Regions from separate parts of the Homo sapiens genome. Here region 2 is linked to region 1. Evidence: promoter capture Hi-C in 16 types of primary human blood cells and fetal thymus (Javierre and others, 2016). All regions are on one chromosome and are shown on one strand. Each heading gives the region's core, a stretch centred on a gene start or on the middle of the fragment in contact. The rest is flanking DNA. Distances are from core to core; before and after follow the strand shown.

Region 1 (4,081 bases), core at 483-2,982:
CTGTAAATAAATAATGACTGATTGGGCAGCTGGGTCAGAGGCATCCAGCCTAAACAGATAAAATTCATCTCAAGGATGAGGACAGTAAAGATTCAAACTCCAGAGGGAGGTAATGGGACAAAAGGAGTTGCAGGCGTAGAAAAAAAAAGAAGCACCCTCAAAATATTCTCTGGGTTATCAGATGGCACAGGAGGGGCGTGGCAAATAAACTAAAATCCATGGTTCTTCACCCATTCTTTCATATTTTCTAACACGGCGGGAATACACTTTTCTAATTTCGTTTCGCCCAATTTAAGGAAAAGATAAGCAAGGATAAAAATTCCTCATATATAGCACAATTAAAAGGGAGCTGGGATTCTCTAACTTATTACCTTAATCGGCTACACAAAGATGAAGCTACATTTCAATCGACACCATGCGCTGGCACGGGAGTAACTCACTTAAAACACCACAATCCAAGGTCAATTTTTCTCAACTCCATTTATGACTGCGTAAAGATTTTATTAAATCTTTTTTCCTATTTCACACATCAATTCCTAGGGTCCACACAAACTCTTCCATCTTCTCCAAACTGGTATTTGGATTAAACATTATCCAAGATCAGTCTTTAAAGTAAATTTCATAATTTCATATAAAAGTGTGCACCACATTAACACTCAAATGTGTGTACAATTAAAAATATACAGACCAGCAACAGCGACTCTTAAATGAATTTAGACTCAAAGTGTTTTCACAGAGGTTTTTCTGCCGTCTTGGAGGGGTAGGAAACTGCTGGCATTACGAATCCCATTTCATGGCTGGGTAAACCGAGGCACTTAGGGGTTACAGAGGTAAAGATGGAAATAGAAACCAATTTCTCCCTCCGACTCTACGCCTGGTCCCTTCCCACTAGACTTTTCAGCACTCAGTGGCTAAAAATGGGACCCACTTGAGAACTGCAAGGGTAAATAAGAGCTACTTGTTTCAGAAGGTGGCGGCGGGGGAGGGGGACTTACCCACTTGATGCGCCCGATTGTGTGTGGGCTCTAACAAGAAAGCTCTCCCTGGATGCCCAAAGGTTTGCACCCACCCGCTTTAAGCTCAGACCCGAGAGGCACCGCCAGGCAGACAGGGCAGCCGGAATCGTGCAGCCCGAGAAACGCGAGAGGAATGCGGGGCGCCCGGGCGGCGCGGGGGCCGCGGGCCCCGGGACACCATTTGCTCCCGGAGCGACGCCGTGGCCCGCCGGGCGGGGACGATGCTGAGCCTTCCGCACACACCTGCCGGAGCCCGCCCGGGAGCCCCGGGCCGCCTCCCGCGCGCCGGACGCCCACCCAGCCTCCAGGCGCAGGAGCTCTCGGCCGCGCTAGGCCAGGGGCGGGAAGCCGCGGCACCCCTCTCCGCGGGCTGCGCTTGGCGGCTGGCGCGGGGGAGCCGCGGGGCGAGGCAAGCCCGCCTTCCTCCCCAACCCCCCCTCCAAACGGCGTCACCTGTGCCGGGTCCCGGGGCGAGTCGCGCGCGGGCGGCGGCTGCGCCGAGCCGGGAGAGGGCGGCGGGTGTCTACAGGAGTCTGCTCATCCGGGCCGGCCCGAGGGCTGGCGCTGGCCAGTGCCGCCCGGTGAGATGCTCACGGGAGCCAGGGAAGCCGCGGGTTCCGGGCCGCTTGGAGGTGCAGTCGCGGAGGCTCCAGCTACCGCGGCGGCCGTCGCGCCCGCCCGGACTGCGGGCTCGGGTTACCGCAGAGCTGCTCCTTAAAGGGGCCGCGGCCGCTCGGGCTCCGGCTCCCGCTCCGGGCGGCTCCGACCCTGGCCAAAGTGGGCGGGGCCCCGAGGCGGGCCGCCGAGCAGACCTTCTTGCCCTGGAACTTGGGTCCCGGAAAGAGCCCAAAAACCCTAACACCCGAAGTCGCAGCGGAGAGATCCTGGAAGCTCACACCTTGCCAAGGGCAGAGGGTGCAATTCCCGGGTTTTCCAAAGCAAGTCACAAAACTTGCCAGCGGGGGAACTGTGTGAGCCCGCCCCCGCAGCGGTCAGTACCTGGGCTAGCCACGTAACAAAAAATCTTCTTAAATTATGAATTTACATTCTGCCTTAAATGCTCAAATACTGGGGACTTCATGGTTAGATCATCAGAAAAGAGATGAAAAGGCAACTGCTGGTTTTTCTTGCCACGTCTGACACGGCCACACTCGAGTCCCGCCAGTTCTTCTTTGGGGCTGCAGGTGCATACCAAACTGGTAGGGGGCGCGTGTAGAAGAAGCGTGTTCTCTCCAGCACCACCTCCAGAATTCCTGAAAAACACCCTCATGGGTGCACCAGCACTACACCTACACCCGGAACCCCTCTGTTGTCGGGGTGTGGAAGTTGGATTTGAATATTTGGTGCTGGCTGAGAATTCCAAGTTGCCTAGTAGATAAAGTTTGACATTAAATAGATGTTCTGACCTGTTATATACAGCCCCAAAAGCCTCCAAGTGATCTGCATCAACCAGAGATAATTGTCTGAAACAAAACAAAATAACAAAGAGGTATACTCATGCATTATAATTCGCAGAGAGCAATCACAAGGCCTTTTCTTGAAAAGAGGTAAGTTCTAAATAAATAATTTGTAAACACTATCATTGATAACAGGATATTTATTTCTAAGAAATGTCAATAGAGCTAACATATTTGATCTACTATATACATGCGCAGAAAGACACACATATCTGCCGCAGATTTAGACCAGAAAATATATACACAAAAGCTCATATAAGCTGTCCATGTTTATTTTCAAGAGAGGGCAATAGAATTTAAATCAGAACCTGGAATTCTGTCAGTTTATTAGAGTTGTGTGCCTTTAGCTAACTGAACCTCACTGAGGCTCAATTTCTTCATCTTTAAAATGGTAATAATAATTCATAGTGACTCTGAAGACCTGGACTGATGTGGAAAAGACAAAATCTATACCACAGAACAGGGAGGGACAGAAACCTGCCCTGCAGTCAAGCAGAGAGAAAGATCTTTCAGGCCCCCAAATGCGTGTTCCCCTTTTTCTCCCCAAGACTCTCAGGATGTACCAGGGCTCCAGTGCTCTTTGAACCACACGGTGTCCCATCATAGTCCCTTCACAATATGTGCAGTACCTGACAACTTTGGTTTGCGCAATAGCTACCTTGTGCACTCACATAGCTATTTCATAACTCTCTGTGGGCAGGATGGTTATATGTGAACATCTGTGAAGTCAGCCCAGAAAATACCAATTTCACAGTGTCCTCTCAAGAGTCTGTATCAACACTACCTCCTACAGAAACTCTCCCATGCTAGTCTCTGGTGGCTGATAGTAGCTCTGTTCTTTCCTGATAAATGCACCATCATTATCTTTGATATGCATAATTCTCTAACACCAACAGCAGTAACCAAAGCCAGGTAAACCCACAGAAATCCACTATACTCTATGTCCCACTATATTCCTTCATATTAGGCCTCTACAAATGCCTCATGAAAACTGCAAGATTGTTTTTGAGATTGTACAGAACATATAAGTTAATATATCAAGGACAAGGCCTGAGCTATGAGAGGAATTCAGTAAATAGTAGTTGAATGTTGCAAGTTTTAAGCTAATTAAAACTCAGTGACCTTAGGAGGTAGAAGAATACATCAACTGTATTTTTTCCTGAAAAATTCAGGGTAGCTTAATCTCTTTAAAAATATCCAGTTCATGGCTGGGTGCAGTGGCTCACGCCTGTAATCCCAGCACTTTGGGAGGCTGAGGCGGGCAGATCACCTGAGGTTGAGAGTTCGAGACCAGCCTGACCAACATGGAGAAACCCTGTCTCTACTAAAAATATAAAAAATTAGCCAGGCATGGTGGTGCTTGCCTATAATCTCAGCTACTCGAGAGGCTGAGGTAGGAAAATCGCTTGAACCTGGGAGGCAGAGGTTGTGTGAGCCGAGCTCACACCATAGCACTCCAGCCTGGGCAATAAGAGCGAAACTCTGTCTCAAAAACAAACATATATATTATATATATATATATATAATGTGTATATATATATATCCAGTTCATTAAATCTGTATTATTAATTGTTTCACCAATATTCCCTTTCCAAGGATACTTTCTCA
Region 2 (4,081 bases), core at 855-3,354, 250 kb after region 1:
CTAAGCCACAGCCATATGCCTGGCAGCTTCTGAACCATGCACCAGGAAACATGAGGATTCAGTTTGTTTTCTCCCAGACAGCCTGGGGCCTCTGAAAAATAGGTGTCTTAATTCCTTTCTATCTAAAGCCAGGGTAGTAGCATTTGCCACACAACAGCTGGGTGTGGGGATTACCATTGTCTATAAATGGGCCTTAATGCAAACTATCATATTGACACACATGTGAGCTTCTTTCTGAAGCACGCACACACGAGGCATCTCTCCAGAGCTCTCAACATCAGCTGGCTGCCCAGAATAGCTCTAAACCAGTCAGCAGGGGTGGAGGATTCAGAACCACCGCTGTCACTGAAAGAATGGCTGTCTGGATGCTACGTGATGAGACTACCTATTATGGCAATGCCAGCTTCTGAAAGAACTGTTTCTTCTTAAGAAACTTTACATCATTTTCCTAATCTAGTGAGATAAACTGTACAATATTTTTACTTTTTTTCTGAGATGCACATGCTGCTCTGGGAGAGCAGAAAGGAGGAGTCACTGGAGATCTGCCAACTGGCTTGGGATGAACCAACCAAACCTGATGTGGAAAAGTCATTGAGTGCTTTAGCTATTGATGGACTACGAGAAAGACAGTCATTGAAACAGAGCTAACTGCAAGGAAAGGGGCGGGGGAAGAGAATGTTTGGAGATACTACAAAGTTGAGTCTGCCGCAAAGGCTTAGAAGACAGAGACCAACATTATGTTCACTAAAAACAGTCTTGGCAGGCAGAGCAGGTTGGGGAGAGGCACTATGAGGTAAGAAGGGGAGAGAGGTGTATATTTCCCCAGAAGCAGCAGGTTTTTCTCTGCCTTGACCTTCACAAGATTATCTGGGACCTTTCTGACCAGTATATTCATCAGTCAGAAAGACAGGAAGCTGCTGGCATTTCTGATCAAATAGCAAGAGGCAACAATCTGTACATGTACTTACTAGATCTTATCTAGAGGGATGACAAAGGAAAGTAAGCTGCACGCTTTACACACTGCATCAAGGTGCATCGGGGTCACTTGGTTCCCTCCTCAAGGGGATGCAGCACAGATCCATCAGGCTCGCAGCTATCTTGCATGATAGCCCAAGGCAGAAAAGGGCTGTGAAAGGCATTGGACATTACAGTACACTCCTACTGTTGAGAATGACTGAGCTGCCTGGCATTTGACCAGTATCTCATCACCAGTTATTTTATTTATCACTATATGTTATAGCAGAACTACTGGCAGGATCGCTGTAAGTAGATACAGATAAATGGCTCCTCTTTGTTCATTCACATTCTCAGACAACTCTACAAGATTCCAGTGCCTCAGAATTGAGGCAACATGAAACATCACTGATTTTTGTGGTTCTAGGATAAGTCCTCACCATGGATACAAGGTATATCATGAAGAGAAATGAGCCTGTCATTTTGGAACACCACAGGAAAACAAACAGCTCATATTGTTTTCCACTCTCCCCCCATTTCCCACACAAAGCATCTCATGGCTTTGATGCTGTGGGGCAGCACTGTGCATGCCCCCAGCTCTGGGCTGGATGCCATGACAAGGGTCAAAAAGCCACATAAGAACCTTGGGGGTCACTGAATCTAACCCTTTCATATTGCAGAAGCTCAGCAAGTTTAAGGGACTCACCCAAGTTACTCAAATAATGAAGAGGCAGAGGCAAACTGCTGCTATACCTGACTGAAGTCATTTTTACCTGGAAGCTTCTCCCAGGAGACTGGTATAGATATGGTGGTTCTCAGACTTCTGACACTAGCCCACAGCTCATTGCCTATACCCATTCCCACTTCTGCTGGAAGAAGAACAAAGCATTGAAGAGGAATGCAATGCTTAAAGTGATTTAAAAAAAAAAAGAATGAATAAACAAAAGGCCGGGCACGGTGGCTCACACCTGTAATTCCAGCACTTTGGGAGGCTGAGGTGGGTGGATCACCTGAGGTCAGGAGTTCGAGACCAGCCAACATGGAGAAACCCCATCCCTACTAAAAATACAAAATCAGCCAGGTGTGGTGGGACAAGCCTGTAATCCCAGCTACTCGGGAGGCTGAGGCAGGAGAATCACTTAAACCTGGGAGGCGGAGGGTGTAGTGAGCCGAGATCGTGCCATTGCACTCCAGCCTGGGCAACAAGAGTGAAACTCTGTCTCAAAAAAAATAAAAAATAAAAAAATAAATGGAATACTCAACAGAAGTAAAACATCAAGACAAGAATGACTGCAACCAAACAACACAGTCAACTCAAGGCAACACTGGTGGTAGCGAAGTGTTCTTTTCCCAGTTTGCAAATCCCAACTGTCTACGTGTGTGCATTCATAAATTTTGCAGGGTCACCAGGCATTGCCTCGGCAGTTAGATGTCTGAAAAGAGTAATGAGTTTGAGTCCTTAAGAAACTATGTTAAGACACCAATTTGGATTTATAAAGAACACATTTTAGTAAGCTTTAATAACACACGCTTTACTTTATTGATTGGCAAACAGCTCCTTGTTGTATGCAAAAATGAAAAACCTATGGAATCCTGCTATTTGCCTATAAAAATTGAAAAAAGGATTTTCTAGAATGTTCAGATCAGTTTGGAACCATCAGGAAGAGTCCTGGGGCTCACCAGTGGGTTTCATACTTAGAGGAACATTGACCTAAAGCCAACATCATGGCTGGGACAGAGGCCTGTGTCCACAATGGACAAGAGATGTGCACTTAGGGAGACATTTCCATGAGGAACTGTGTGCAGACCTGGTAAGAAACAGTAAGTACACCATTCTTGCTGAGTGCTTAGCCTGTAGTCTCACAGTGGGGTTCTTAGCCAGGCCCCTGGAAAGTGCTGGGAGGGAGAGGGGAGGCTGTAAGGTCCCTTTGCCTGAAAGTCTCTGAGAATGGCCAGCCAACACTCCCAGACGCTTTGACCACTAACTTGCCTGAGGAAAGGAGGAGGGGCCAGGCCACCCTGACCAGCCTTTTCTGGATGGATAACTGCTTGATTACAGTTACAGTGAGTTCATCATCTTCATTGCTCCTTCACCTTTCCCGTCTTCCTCCACAAAAGTCTGCTGTGTAACAAGATGTGCTCTGCCAGCTCTACTTGTCTGGACTCTGGCTTTGCTCACATCCCCAGGTGGTGGTCATGAGTCCTCCTCTGGCTATTTTAAAAATGCACAGTGGTTAAGGGCTTGGGTCCTGGAGGGAAAACAGACTTGGATTCAAATCCTAGTTCTGCCACTATGTGCCTCCTCTAAGCCTCAATCTCCCTATCTGTAAACTGGAGACACTATCTCAAAAACTAACAACTGGCCACGAATGGTGGCTCATGCCTGTGATCTCTGCAGTTTGGGAGGCCAAGGCGGGTAAATCACCTGAGGTCAGGAGTTCAAGACCAGCCTGGCCAACATGGTGAAATGCCGTTTCTACTAAAAACACAAAAACTTAGCATGTGGTGGCATGTGCCTGTAGTCCCAGCTACTCCGGAGGATAAGGCAGGAGAATCACTTGAACCCGGGAGGCAGAGGTTGCAGTGAGCTGAGATTGTGCCACTGCACTCCAGCCTGGGCAACAGGAGCAAAACTCCGTCTCAAACAAAAGAAAACAAAAACGAAAACAAAAAACCTAACAACTGATATAATGCAGGAAAAGTGCTCAGCATACAACTGGCAAAATAGTTTATTGCCAATACCCACAGCTGTTATTGCTGTCGTTAGTAGCTGGTGATCTCCAGTGGGTGCTCTATACTCAGGTCCACCTCTCCTAGGAAATTTCCCCTAATTACAGAGTCAAATGACCTCTCCCAGTGACCAAGATTCCCCTTTTCTGAACTTCCACAGCCCTATCCCAACACTTAAACATGTACTTTTCTGTACTGTCATATAAATGTCTCATGCATATACCACTTACTGGCCCCTGGCTCCCAACAACTAGCTTGTCAATTTCTTGGAGGCTTGCCTTTTGCACTATACAGTAATGACTCTGTATCACCTCTGTATCACCATGGTCCTGGTCCCTATTATGCCCAGGTAGAAATAGTCTGCATACAGCATAAACACATGGTTGCTGGATGAACG

The links. The method cuts DNA at HindIII sites, captures the fragments that hold promoters and counts their contacts. A CHiCAGO score of 5 or more calls a contact.
Region 2: a contact is called between a fragment that was not itself captured here and the fragment with the promoter of TLCD4 in region 1, in 1 of 17 cell types (naive B cells). The highest score is 5.2, in naive B cells.

What each region holds. Positions count from the first base shown.
Region 1 is chr1:95,115,006-95,119,086 of GRCh38, reverse strand. It overlaps TLCD4 (TLC domain containing 4), which reads right to left and starts at 1,732. Exons shown (of 7, transcript NM_152487.3): 1 at 1,470-1,732. It overlaps TLCD4-RWDD3 (TLCD4-RWDD3 readthrough), which reads right to left and starts at 1,164. Exons shown (of 8, transcript NM_001199691.1): 1 at 996-1,164. RefSeq lists silencers at 1,242-1,291, 1,372-1,651, 1,579-1,725 and a cis regulatory region at 2,980-3,507. The HindIII fragment of the contact is 12,433 bases long and covers 1-4,081 here.
Region 2 is chr1:94,870,215-94,874,295 of GRCh38, reverse strand. The region is part of intron 12 of SLC44A3 (solute carrier family 44 member 3); the gene reads right to left. Among named protein-coding and RNA genes, the nearest start is that of SLC44A3, 52 kb to the right of the region's middle. RefSeq lists an enhancer at 254-423. The HindIII fragment of the contact is 735 bases long and covers 1,737-2,471 here.